3 separate regions of the Homo sapiens genome follow, and all the other regions are linked to region 2. The links are contacts of gene promoters, found by promoter capture Hi-C in human tissues and cell types (Jung and others, 2019). All regions are on one chromosome and are shown on one strand. The core of a region is centred on a gene start or on the middle of the fragment in contact, and the rest is flanking DNA. Distances in the headings are between cores, read along the strand shown. Region 1 overlaps RTEL1 (regulator of telomere elongation helicase 1). Region 2 holds the start of PPDPF (pancreatic progenitor cell differentiation and proliferation factor). Region 3 overlaps ZBTB46 (zinc finger and BTB domain containing 46).

What was found. The method cuts DNA at HindIII sites, captures the fragments that hold promoters and counts their contacts. A contact is called where the count stands out against the background at its distance.
Region 1: a contact is called between a fragment that was not itself captured here and the fragment with the promoter of PPDPF in region 2, in 1 of the 25 tissues and cell types used here (pancreas).
Region 3: a fragment that was not itself captured here is called in contact with the fragment with the promoter of PPDPF in region 2 in 1 of the 25 tissues and cell types used here (spleen).

Annotation. Positions count from the first base shown.
Region 1 is chr20:63,667,259-63,671,215 of GRCh38, reverse strand. It overlaps RTEL1 (regulator of telomere elongation helicase 1), which reads right to left. Exons shown (of 35, transcript NM_001283009.2): 8 at 3,663-3,747. RTEL1-TNFRSF6B (RTEL1-TNFRSF6B readthrough (NMD candidate)) reads right to left here. Exons shown (of 38, transcript NR_037882.1): 8 at 3,663-3,747. Among named protein-coding and RNA genes, the nearest start is that of RTEL1, 11 kb to the right of the region's middle. The HindIII fragment of the contact is 4,863 bases long and covers 1-3,957 here.
Region 2 is chr20:63,519,484-63,523,534 of GRCh38, reverse strand. It overlaps PPDPF (pancreatic progenitor cell differentiation and proliferation factor), which reads right to left and starts at 2,770. Exons shown (of 4, transcript NM_024299.4): 1 at 2,641-2,770; 2 at 2,172-2,251; 3 at 1,946-2,023; 4 at 1,329-1,867. The coding sequence starts at 2,226. The coding sequence ends at 1,656. It overlaps LOC102723814 (a long non-coding RNA gene), which reads left to right and starts at 2,862. Exons shown (of 2, transcript XR_430332.4): 1 at 2,862-4,051. RefSeq lists silencers at 2,318-2,517, 2,628-3,177, 3,238-3,487 and enhancers at 2,760-3,636, 3,637-4,051. The HindIII fragment of the contact is 19,807 bases long and covers 1-4,051 here.
Region 3 is chr20:63,774,559-63,778,697 of GRCh38, reverse strand. ZBTB46 (zinc finger and BTB domain containing 46) reads left to right here. Exons shown (of 5, transcript NM_001369741.1): 3 at 2,736-3,020. Among named protein-coding and RNA genes, the nearest start is that of ZBTB46-AS1, 31 kb to the left of the region's middle. RefSeq lists an enhancer at 241-778. The HindIII fragment of the contact is 8,553 bases long and covers 1-4,139 here.

The DNA of each region.
Region 1 (3,957 bases), core at 381-2,880, 150 kb before region 2:
GGTGGCGGGTGCCTGTAGTCCCAGCTACTCGGAAGGCTGAGGCAGGAGAACTGTTTGAACCCAAGAGGCGGAAGCTGCAGTGAGCCAAGACCACACCACTGCACTCCAGCCTGCACCACAGAGCGAGACTCCATTTCAAAACAAAAAACAAAAACACAAAAAACAGTAGGTCCTCCTCAATGGGCCTCTCTGGGTTAGCATGTCCGAGACTCATCGGCTCCCTGCTGCTGTGTGACCACAGTCCACGCCCGTGGCTGCTGTTAGTGTTCGGGTACCACGGTCTGTCCATTCACCTGTGGATGGGCTCACGCGGGCTGCTTCCCAGTTTTGGCAACTGCAAACAAAACTCTGGTAAACCTGCACACTGAAGTCTTTTCTTTTTTCTTTTTTTTTTTTTTTGAGATGGGGTCTCCCTATGTTGCCTAGGCTGGTCTCAAACTCCTGGGCTTAAGCGATCCCCCAGCCTTGGCCCCTAAAGTTCTGGGATTACAGGCGTGAGCCACTGAGCCTGGCCACATATGAATCTTTGAACACGTCTTCCCTTCTCCCGGCTCGGCTGTTTGCCACACGTTTGTGGAGTGGCTACACAACTTCACAGCGATGGATGAGATCCAGCTGTTCCACATCCTCATGCCACACTCAGGGCTTCTGAATTTCAGCCATGCCAGTGGGACCACAGTGTCGGCTCCCCGTGGCTTTAATCTGCCTTCTCCTATGACTGGAGATGCTGGGCGACTTTCCATGTGCTCAACTGGTCATTCCATCCACCTTGGTGAAACGTCTGTCCGGATGCTCTCCCAGTGGTTAACTGGCCATTCCACCCATCTTGGCGAAACGTCTGTCCGGATGCTCTCCCAGTGGTTAACTGGCCATTCCACCCATCTTGGCGAAACGTCTGTCCGGATGCTCTCCCAGTGGTTAACTGGCCATTCCACCCATCTTGGCGAAACGTCTGTCCGGATGCTCTCCCAGTGGTTAACTGGCCATTCCACCCATCTTGGCGAAACGTCTGTCCGGATGCTCTCCCAGTGGTTAACTGGCCATTCCACCCATCTTGGCGAAACGTCTGTCCGGATGCTCTCCCAGTGGTTAACTGGCCATTCCACCCATCTTGGCGAAACGTCTGTCCGGATGCTCTCCCAGTGGTTAACTGGCCATTCCACCCATCTTGGCGAAACGTCTGTCCGGATGCTCTCCCAGTGGTTAACTGGCCATTCCACCCATCTTGGCGAAACGTCTGTCCGGATGCTCTCCCAGTGGTTAACTGGCCATTCCACCCATCTTGGCGAAACGTCTGTCCGGATGCTCTCCCAGTGGTTAACTGGCCATTCCACCCATCTTGGCGAAACGTCTGTCCGGATGCTCTCCCAGTGGTTAACTGGCCATTCCACCCATCTTGGCGAAACGTCTGTCCGGATGCTCTCCCAGTGGTTAACTGGCCATTCCACCCATCTTGGCGAAACGTCTGTCCGGATGCTCTCCCAGTGGTTAACTGGCCATTCCACCCATCTTGGCGAAACGTCTGTCCGGATGCTCTCCCAGTGGTTAACTGGCCATTCCACCCATCTTGGTGAAACGTCTGTCCAGATCCCTTCCCAGTGGTTAAGTGGGTTGTTTGCTTAGTTATGGGAGAATTTTACATACTCTGGTCAAAGGTCCTTTCAAATCAGAGGAGGGCTGAAAAAATTTTTTAAGTCCTTTGAAAGAAGTATTTTCTCCCTTTCTTTAACTGCTTTTTCATTTTCTCAACTCTTCCACAGAGTTGAAGCTTTAAATTTTGGTGAAGTCTAAATTTTAATGTTTTTCTTCATGGCTAGTGCCTTGTGTATCCATACTAAGAAATCTCTGCCTACCCCAAAGTTGCAAAGACCTCCCCCATGTTCCTTTCTATAACTTTTAGTTTAGCTTTTACATTTAGGTTTATACAGGGTAAAACAAGAGTTAAGATTCACTGTTTTCCGAACAGATATCCAGCTGTTCTTAGCACCATTTTTTCAGAAAACCAGAAATCAACCTTCATTTCCTCTCTCAATTAAATTGGCATGTTTGTCAAAAAACAATCACCAAGGGCCAGGCATGGTGGCGCACGCCTGTAATCCCAGCTACTCGGGAGGCTGATGTGGGAGAATCGCTAGAACCTAGGGGCGGGGGCTGCAGTGAGCCGAGATGGTGCCACTGCACTCCAACCTGGGTGACAGAGTGAGATTCCAACTGAAAAAAAAAACAATGACCACATGCGTGTGGGTCAGCTTGAGCTTGCTGCCTTCTCCATGGCCTGCAGGCCTGTGCCTGAGCTGGGCCATCTCCACCTCCACTCCTGCAGCTTTAGAGGAGTCTTGAAACCAGCGAGGTGAGTCCTCCAGCTCTGTTCTTCTTCACGGTCATCTTGCTGTTTTAGATCTTCTGCGTTTCCGTGAAAGTGTTAGACTCGGCTTACCAGCTGTGATATAACTGTCCCAGGGAGGGGCCTGGTTGGGTTAGAAGCTCTCCAGATGGTTCCCAGGGGCAGCCAGGGCTCAAAGCACCGAGTCACCCACAACCACGGCAAACCTCACCAGCTCTCTGTGGGGTTCTGCTACAGCTTCCCAGGAGTCGGCCCCCCAGCCGCCCCCACTCACCTCTTCCCTTGCTCTGCTGCACCTGCTGAGGCTCCCCTCAGACCCACCAGCATTCCCCACCTCCCGCCGACATCGCACTTGGGCCCGCTTGGCTCGGTCTCCGCCTCCTCCCTCTGCTCTATTTCCCTTCAGTATCATCAGCTCACGTGCTTACTCTTTTGCTGTCCACCTGTCCCCACCACTAGAATCAAAGCTCCATGTGAGTGAAGCCAGTCTTGCTATGCCTGGAATAGCACCCAGCATGATGAGCTCTCAATAAATATACACCCCGAGAATGAGCGAACCAACGACGGGATCTGGAAACGTCACCACGCCATCGTCACGTGAACACACAAACCATTGACCCGTGGCGTGTGATCCCACCTGCACTAAGTAAAAAGTGTGGGGCACAAAAGCAGGGCACATGGGGAGGAGGGCAGCAGGGCCGGGCACACACTGGGAGGAGGGGAGTTGAGTGTGGGGCCGGGCACATGCTGGCGGGGGGAGTGAGCGTGGGGCTGGGCACACGGGGCGGAAGGGAGTGGGGCTGGGCACACACTGGGAGGAGGGGAGTGAGTGTCAGGCCGGGCACATGCTGTGGGGGGAGTGAGTGTGGGGCCGGGCATGCACTGGGAAGAGGGGAGTGAGTGTGAAGCCGGGCACATGCTGGGAGGGGGAGTGAGTGTGGGGCCGGGCACGCGCTGGGAAGAGGGGAGTCAGTGGGCTTCCTGTGTTCTCGGTGCCTCCCATGGCCTGACGTGAAGGAGAGAACCTGAGCTGTCAGGATCAAGAGCGGGCACTGGCCTATGGACCACAGCCTGGAGGTCTCTCCTCACTCCCACCAGCCTGCCCGCTCCCAGACTGCTCAGAAAACTGACCTGTGGCCTGGGGCTGCTCACAAGTGTGTCTGGCCAGGTTGAGCCCCTGCCCAGTGACAGAGGTGAGTCCTCCCACCCAGGCCTGCTGATCTAAGGCCCTGAAGCAGCAAAGGCTCGGACAGCTGTTCCCAAGCCCAGGGACACCCCTGGACATCAGGAGTCGTCAGCTACAGGACTGAGCCCCCACCTTGGCATCCAACAAGTAATTGTACGGCATGAATATGATGTCGGCTTGCTGCTTCAGGTTCCGGGACAGGTAGTAAGGGCACACCCTGGGAAGGAGAGAGGAGAAGATCCTGTGAGCACCCCATGCAGGGGACGGTGCCCCGAGGCCGCCATGTCTTCTGACCCGGAAGGAGCCCTCATCCTGCACGTAGGGCCCAGGTGGGAAGCTGCTGCCTGGGATGGATGGGAGTCCACGTGAGTTTCTGACCAAGGGATGGGGAGTCCATGTGAGTTTCCGACCAAGGGATGGGGAGTCC
Region 2 (4,051 bases), core at 1,521-4,020:
TGCCCCTTCCAACAAGACACCAGCTCCCGGGCAGTGCCCCTCCCCCGCTGACTCCAAAAGCCAGGACAGCTTCTTTCCAAGCAGGGTGGACCCACCCTTGGTCCTGACCCCAAGCCCTCCAGCTCAGCCAAGGGCGGAGCCCCCCCAGGCCATGTGTGGTGGGGACCTGAGCGTGGCTGGGCTCTCCCTTCAACACCAACTCCTGCTACCCTCACAGCTGTGTGTACATGGAGGAGGGTCTCTGTGGGCTTCATCTGGACACTGCAAAAGGCTGCAGGGGGCTCAACTGCCATTAGGAGCAGCCTCCCACTCCTGGGTCCATCGGAGGCTCCCCCACCCAGCCTCAGCACTGACCACCGGCTTGGATGGCTGGGTGAGGCTGCCTCCACCCTGTGGACAGGACAAAGGCTCAGCCATCAGAGGCCACAAGCCAGATGCCTTCCCACCAGCTTCCCACCAACTAGTACAGCTATTTATAGTGCAGTGGAACAGGGTACCAGGCAGGGAGCACCCACTGATCCCCACCCCTCCCCAGAGTCCCTCCCCCACCACTGAACCCCACCCTTTCCCACCCCACGGAGGCCCCTCCTCTCACCATGTCCCTGGCCACACATCAAGTCTCCAGCTATCTCACTGACTCCCACCTGCTCACTAAGCTGCCTCTCAACAGAACTGAGTCAATCCCTGTAGGCTCCTGGCAGAGGTGTGGGGACACCACCCACCTTGGTTATGAAGGAGTCTACTAAGCTCACAGCCCATGCACTCCTGTGTGTGGACCCCCATCCCTGCCAGCCTGCAGCACTCCCGGACTCCAACACTCCATGCCTATACCAGGCCAGAATGATGCAGCCACCCTCACTTTAAGCTGGGCTGCCTGTGGCAGGAAGACCCCTCCACGGTGCCTGCAGCCCCTACCCCTCAGCCTGTCTTGGGGCAACACCCCTATGGGAGGCCCTTGGGAGACACCTACCAGCAGGAACCAGGTCCCTCCAGAGTGAGGGCTTCCCAGCTCACAGCCAGAGGCTACTCCCCGCCCCGCAGGCCCTCGGGTAAGGGGCCTGAATCCCTCAGAGGACCAGCCCTCCCTGCTCCCTTTCCCCCCGCTAAAGGTGGCACGGGGGCCCACCTCAGTGGCTGCCCTGGGTCCTGCTTGTCCAGCTCCAGGACTGCCTGCTGTCCAAGGCTCTCCAGAAGCAGCAGTGAACCCCACCCTTATCAGCCCCAGCAACAGCCTCACAGCGTGAGGAGGCCCAGAAAGGCCTGGGAGCAGGGCCAGCCCCCACAAGGCAGTGAGGTCGGGAGGGATTCAGCCATTTCTCACACTCAAATGGAACCTCGGGCCACACAGCTCAGGCACACACCATCGGGGCTACTGGCTGCTTGGAGTTTATTTTCCGCTTGGTGCCAGGTGCACAGTTCCAGGTGTCAGGAAAGCTAGCGAGTGCTGGGGCCGGGCGGTAGAGAGCGGGGCTCTCACTGGTTTTTGGTGTCTGCTGTGTTGATGCGAAGGTCTGCTTGCTGCAGCCGCCTAGTTTACAGGGTGGGGGGTGGGAGGTGGGGAGGGGGGCGAGGGATGCGGAGTGGGGAGAGGGGCGGGGAGGGGCTCTGGTGGACTAGCGCCTCCGCAGGCCTGGGGCTGGTGGTAACCGCTCAGGTCAGGACGGGGGCCCAGCGCTGGCTGTGCTGGACTGACCGCCGGGCTGCTTCCTCGGGGCGTCCCGAGCCAGGCCACAGGCGGTCATGCTGCTGGAGGCCTGGGGAGGTTCCGAGTGCTCTGCGGACTCCAACACCGTGGCCATGAACGGGAGGGTGGACTTCCCGAAAAAGAAGCTGGCCCACCAATGACCCGGGTCAGCCTTGGGGAGACCTGAGAGAAGCGAAGTGGGGTCTTGATGCTGCCAGCTCCTGGAGGAGCGGGGGGAGAAAGGGGCGATCCTGCACTCACCTGGGGGGTGGGGAATGGCTTCCCCGGGGCACTCGGTACTGCTGCAGGAGCTGTTGCTGGAAGTGGAACCCAGGCGGCCTGGAGAGGAGAGGTCCCGTCAGCAACGCGGGGCGCGGAGCCCCCCAGCCCACCGGCCTTCAGGCCGAGCGCTGGTTCCGCAGCCTGCACGGGGCCGGCACTGGCGCCAGCAGAGCATCCGCGTGGATGGGGGGCAGGGGCTACTCACGCCGGTAGTAGTCGTGGGTGGCCACGAGCGAGCCGCTGGAGGGGATGGCCGCCATGCTTTAGCTTGCTGGCTGGTGGGATCTGCGCATGGGGGTGGAGGAGCCCCTCGGGTCAGCGGCCTTCCGTCATGAAGGGCGCTCCCCAGCGGGTGGAGCCGCCGCGCTGGGTTATTTACCGAGGCGGGGCTCCCCAGCTCCCGGCACCGCCTTCGCCGCGCGGGGCGCGGGCGGCTCCAACCAGCCCAAACCGGCCGAGCGGGTGGAACAAAGGCGCTTTGTGCGCGGGGCCCCGGCCCAGACGTCGGGAACCTGGTGGGCGCCGTCCCAACCCGCCCGACCCGAGAGGAGCCCGCCGGGGACCCCGAGCCCAGCGCTCGCCAGGCGGAGAGGAGAGGAGCCCCCGGCCCAGCCCCGCCCCTCGCCCCCCGCCCCTCGGGCCTGCTCGTCCCACCCGCGCGCGGCGCCCCTCACCTGGGCGGCGACCCCTCGCGGGCCTCGGCGCACGATCACGGGTGGCGGGGACGGGGGCGCTAGGCCACGGAGCCCATTTGCAGAGAAGACCGCGGGAAGCCGCGCCACGACAGAGAGGCGCGCGCGGGGTGCGCACGCGCGGACGCGCCCACTTATATGCGCGGGGGCCGCGGCGCGTCACGGAGGGCGGGGCGCACAGGCTCCTCCCCGGGCCCCACCCGGCCCCGCCCCTTTCCTGGCCCCGGCGAGGCCGCGCCCCCAGCTTCCACCTCGGTGCGACTCTCGCCGTCTGGCTTGGGCTGAGCCCAGCCCTGCGGCGTTCGTCTTGGGGCGGCCCGGCCGGTCCTGGGTCTGCAGGGGTTAAAAGGCCCCGCGCCCGGGTCCGGGAGCCCAGCCCCCGCCCCTCTCCCGGGCCCAGGCCCCCGTCTCGGACGCGTCTCGGAGCCCCGCCTGGTCCAGCCCGCCCGTCCTCTTCAGCCCTTGTGGAGGCGACGGGGGCGCCGGGCGGGCCAAAAAGTGCTACGTGCGCGGAGCCCTCCGGCCCGGCCTCCAGGGACTTCGCAGCCAGAGGAACCTGGATCTCTCCCGAGTCCCCCTCACAGCTCTGGCAGCTCCGGAACCTGCACCCCGGTTGCCCAGCCCCAGGACGCGCCTGCTGCCCGCAGGGGGCGGTGAAAGGGTGGGCGGATGGCGGGGCAGTGGGAGGCGGGGCCCAGTCGGAGAGCGGGGCGGATTTGGGCGGGTGAGGTGAGTCTCCAGTCGCCGGAGGCAGAGGCTGGGCCCCACTGCTCGGAGACCCCATGTTTGGGGAGCCCAGAGCGTTCCCGGCAGGGCCCTGGGGCCCGGGGGACGGCCCGCCATGCCAATCAGGAGGGGGCGCGTTTTCCCTTCCCAGGCAGAAAGGCGTCCTCCCTCTCCTCCTCCCCCCAGCGCAGAATCCTCCCCACACCTCCCTCGGCCCCGCAGGGGAAATCGGCCTGCCCCTACGGAAATCCCGTTTCTTTATACACCCGGTCCTGGCTGGGCGGTGTCTTCCCCGTGGAAGAGAGGGTCCGGGAGGTCCGTGGGGCGGAACAGTCCGAGGGCTTCGGGAGTCAGCCCGGGTGGATTTGTTTCGTGGCTCTCGTTGCTGGCTGGGACGGCCGTGTGCCCGTGTTGTTCCGGAGATCGAGGCCAACGGATGCCGTACTCTGTCCTCGCCGGGTGCTCAGTGAGGACCCACAGCTGGGCAGGGACCCTGGGAGGCCCCTGAGCAAGACTTGGAGGGACGCCCTTGTGCCCCCTGAGCACGTGGGGAAGGCGCTGTCCTGGGCCCTGCACCGCTCTGTGTGTTCATTGCACGAGTGTGGTAAGCACCTACTATGTGCACATGGCCGAGCCAAGCGCAGGGAACGGTAAACCAAGGGAGAAC
Region 3 (4,139 bases), core at 797-3,296, 260 kb before region 2:
CCCTTAGAGGCCTCCAGAAGAAGTCATAGGTAGCTCGACGGTCCGAATGTCACTGTCCCTGGAGACTCCCACCCGCTCCTGCCAGGCTGGACTCACCCCGTGTGCTGCCTGACGGGGGCCCTGCCCACCTGCCACACCCAGCTCTCAGCTGCTGGGCCTCACGTGTGCATGTTTGTTCCAGGGGTGTTTGCAGACGTCACCTCTGCCCCTGCTCCAAGTGCCCCCTGCCCCATGCCCCTGTGTTTCTGTGGTTCTGATCCCGATTCCTGTCAACGACCACGGTGGAAAATCCATTCTCTTGCTGTGGGAAAATATCTGCAAATCATCATCGCTCAGCGTGTTCTGGGGGTGTTTTGATATCGTGCATACAGCCCCACTAGAGGGAGGGTACTCCACAAAGCCCTGGCTGGCCTGAGCTGACACTCGGAGGAATCCGTTGAATTCATGACTCAAGTCGTCACCTTTTGTTGTTTTTGTTGTTGTTGTTAAATAGAAGCTTTACTGAGAGATGATTCACACCCCACTCACCCATTTAAAGTCTGCAGTTCAGAGGTTTTTGGTATGGTATATTCACAGCATCCTGTAGCCATCAGCACAGTCCCCTTAGAACATTTTCCTCGGCTCAGAGGGAAACCCTGCACCACTTAGCCCTCATCCGAGACCCCTCCCCAGCCCCTTTTTGCAGCCACAAACCTACTTTCTGTCTTGATTTGCCTGTTCTGGATATTTAATGGAAATGAAATGGCATGTGGCCTTCTGTGTCTGGCTTTGTTCACTCAGCAGTTTTCAAGGCTCCTCTGCGTGGTTCTGTGTCTGGCTTCGTCCGCTGAGCATGTTTTCACGGCTCCTCTGTGTGGTGGCCTGTGTCTGTTCTTCATGCCTTTTCATGGCCACATAATATTCCATTGTGGGGATGGACCTGTTATGTTTATCCATTCGTCCATCGATGGACTTGTTGGCTGTTCCACCTTTTGGCTGTTATGGATAACGTGCTACGCGCGTCCTGGACGAGGTTTTCTGTGAGCTTTTGTGTCTTCATTTCTCGTGGGTATCTGCATGCGTACATGTGGAACTGCTGGGCCCCGTGGTGATTCCTGTACCTGATGTTGTGAGGACCTGCCGACCTGCTCCGCAGGAGGGCACCATGTTACACTCTTACCAGCAAGGTTCCAGGGTTCTGATTTCTTCCCATCCTTGCCAATATTATCTGATCTTTTTTGTTGTTGTTTTTGAGATAGGGTCTCACTCTGTCACCCAGACTGGAGTACAGTGGCTCGATCACAGCTCACCACAGCCTCAACCTCTCAGGCTCAAGTGATCCTCCCGCCGCAGCCTCCTGAGTAGCTAGGACCACAGGCACAACCCACCACACTCAGCTAATTTTGTTTTATTTTAACTTTTTGTCCTGCTGTGTTGCCCAGGCTGGTCTTGAACTCCTGTTCTCAATAGATCTTCCGGTCTTAGCCTCCCAAAATGTTGGGACTGGAAGCGTGAGCCACGGTGCCTGGCCTTTTTATATCCAGCCATCCCAGTGGGTGTGTGCTGGAACCGTGGCGTGTGCTGGAACCGTGGCGTGTGGTGGAACCGTGGCGTGTGCTGGAACCGTGGCGTGTGGTGGAACCGTGGCGTGTGCTGGAACCGTGGCGTGTGGTGGAACCGTGGCGTGTGGTGGAACCGTGGCGTGTGCTGGAACCGTATTGTGTGGTGGAATCGTGTTGTGTTTTGCGTTTCCTTAGTGATGGGTGATGCTGAGCATCTCTTCCTGTGCGTCTTGGCCATTTATACATCTTCTTTGGACAAATGTCTAGTAAGATTTTTTGCCCATTTTTATATTGAGTTACAGTATTTGCCTTTTTATTATCAGATATATAGGTTGCAATTTTTTTTTTTTTTTGAGACAGAGCGTTGTTCTGTCGCCCAGGCTAGAGTGCAGTGGTGTGATCTCGGCTCATTGCAACCTCCACCTCCTGGGTTCAAGCGATTCTCCTGCCGCAGCCTACTGAGTAGCTGGGATTACAGGCACGTGCCACCACGCCCGGCTAATTTTTGTATTTTTAGTAGAGATGGGGTTTCACCATGTTGGCCAGGCTGGCCTTGAACTCCTGACCTCAGATGATCCGCCCGCCTCGGCCTCCCAGAGTGCTGGGATCACAGGCTTGAGCCACCGCACCCGGCGTCACTTTCTTGGTAGTATCCTTTGAAGCACAGACATTTAATTTTGATGAGTCCAATTTATTTTGTTGCTTGTGCTTGGTTTTGTATCTAAGAACCTATTGCCAAATCTGAGATCATGCGGATTTTCTTCTAAGAATTTTATAGATTTAGCTCTAACGTCATTGATCCATTTTGAGCCTCTCCTCGTCTTTGCGAGATGGAAATACTGCCGCCCCAGGAGCCTCTGACTCTCAGGCCCTCGGCCCTGGAGCAGAGCAGGTACCAGGTCTGCAGCGCCTCGTCCAGGGAGGGCAACCCCGTTGTTCTGAGTTGAGCCGTCCTCCAAAGCCTTGGCTGAGACTCCACCGCAGCCATGGGACCTGGGTGGGCAGGAAAGGCCGGGCTGGGCCGAGGCTGCTGCATTGCTGGGGCAGGTGCCCGGCTCCCAGGGTGGGCTGGACTTGATGCTGCTCTGTAGCTCAGGCAGAAGCTGGTCGCTGTCCTTCTAAATGTGTCGCCTGTCCCACTTGGAGAGTCTGGGAACGACCCGTGTCTTCTGACGTGTGTCCCTCTGTCCCCAGATGCGGACCTGTCCGTCACCGAAGCCAGCAGCTCCGACAGCCGAGGAGAGAGGGCCGAGCTCTATGCACAGGTGGAGGAGGGTCTCCTGGGAGGAGAAGCCAGCTATCTGGGCCCTCCCCTCACCCCAGAGAAGGACGACGCCCTGCATCAGGCCACCGCGGTGGCCAACCTGCGCGCGGCGCTCATGAGTAAGAACAGCCTGCTGTCGCTGAAGGCCGACGTGCTGGGGGATGACGGCTCCCTGCTGTTCGAGTACCTGCCCAGAGGGGCCCACTCGCTGTCCCGTAAGTGCAGGCCCTGGGGGCCGCTTGGCTTTGGTGTGGTTTTGAAGGCTGAGGGTTGCAGGTCCCGGGCCAAGATGAGATGAGGCTGAGGGTCTGTCCCTGCTGCTCGGCCGCCTGCTGACCTCCCTGTTGCGGGAGGTGAGGATGCGGCGTCACAGCCTGGACTGGCCTCTCAGGTGCACGGGGGGCTGGCTTTAGAGTGAGGAGGGAATGGACGCGGTTGTGAGCGCGGCGGGCAGGGGAGCAGCCGAGTGCTTGCTGGAATGTTTCTCACAGGAGTCGTTGGCTGAATGCGAGCTCGTCCGGGTCGCGCAGGGGCCGGGGGTCTTTGTGCTCCAGAGACGGGCTCGGGCGCCCCCTGCCGGCCCCTCTGTCGCCTTCGTGCTGAGGCTCGTTTCGCGCAAGGGAGATGGGGGCGGCCGCTGCGAGCCGATTGCACTTGGGGGCCTCGCCTTGCGTTGCCTTCGCTGGATGATGCTGGTGGCGTGTGACTTTTAAAGATGCGTCGGAGGTTGTCTTTAAAACGTAAATGTCCCCAGCTGAATCCAAACGACGACGCGCCTGCCGAGATGTGGCCAAAAGTTCAGCCACTGCTGCGTGTCGGGCTCACCCCAGACTGACTGACTTCCTGACAAGACGGGGGCATTCAGCTTTCGGAGTTTAAAAAAACAAAGGGGCCGGGCGCGGTGGCTCACGCCTGCAATCCCAGCACTTTGGGAGGCTGAGGCGGGCAGACCACGAGGTCAGGAGATCGAGACCATCTTGGCCAACACGGTGAAACCCCGTCTCTACTAAAAATACAAAAAATTAGCCGGGCGTGGTGGCGGGCGCCTGTAGTCCCAGCTACTCGGGAGACTGAGGCAGGAGAATGGCGTGAACCCGGCAGGCAGAGCTTGCAGTGAGCCGAGATCGCGCCACTGCACTCCAGCCGGGGCGACAGAGGGAGACTCTGTCTCAAAAAAAAAAACAAAAAAAAAAACAAAAAAAACCCACCGCAGCCAGCCCCCAGCCAGCTGCCTTCTGGTCTCGCGCTCATGTGGGCCCCCGGGCAAGGCCTGGTGCTGGCACCTAGCACATAGCTGGCACTCAGCATGCGGCTGAGAGTGAGTGAGGCGCCTC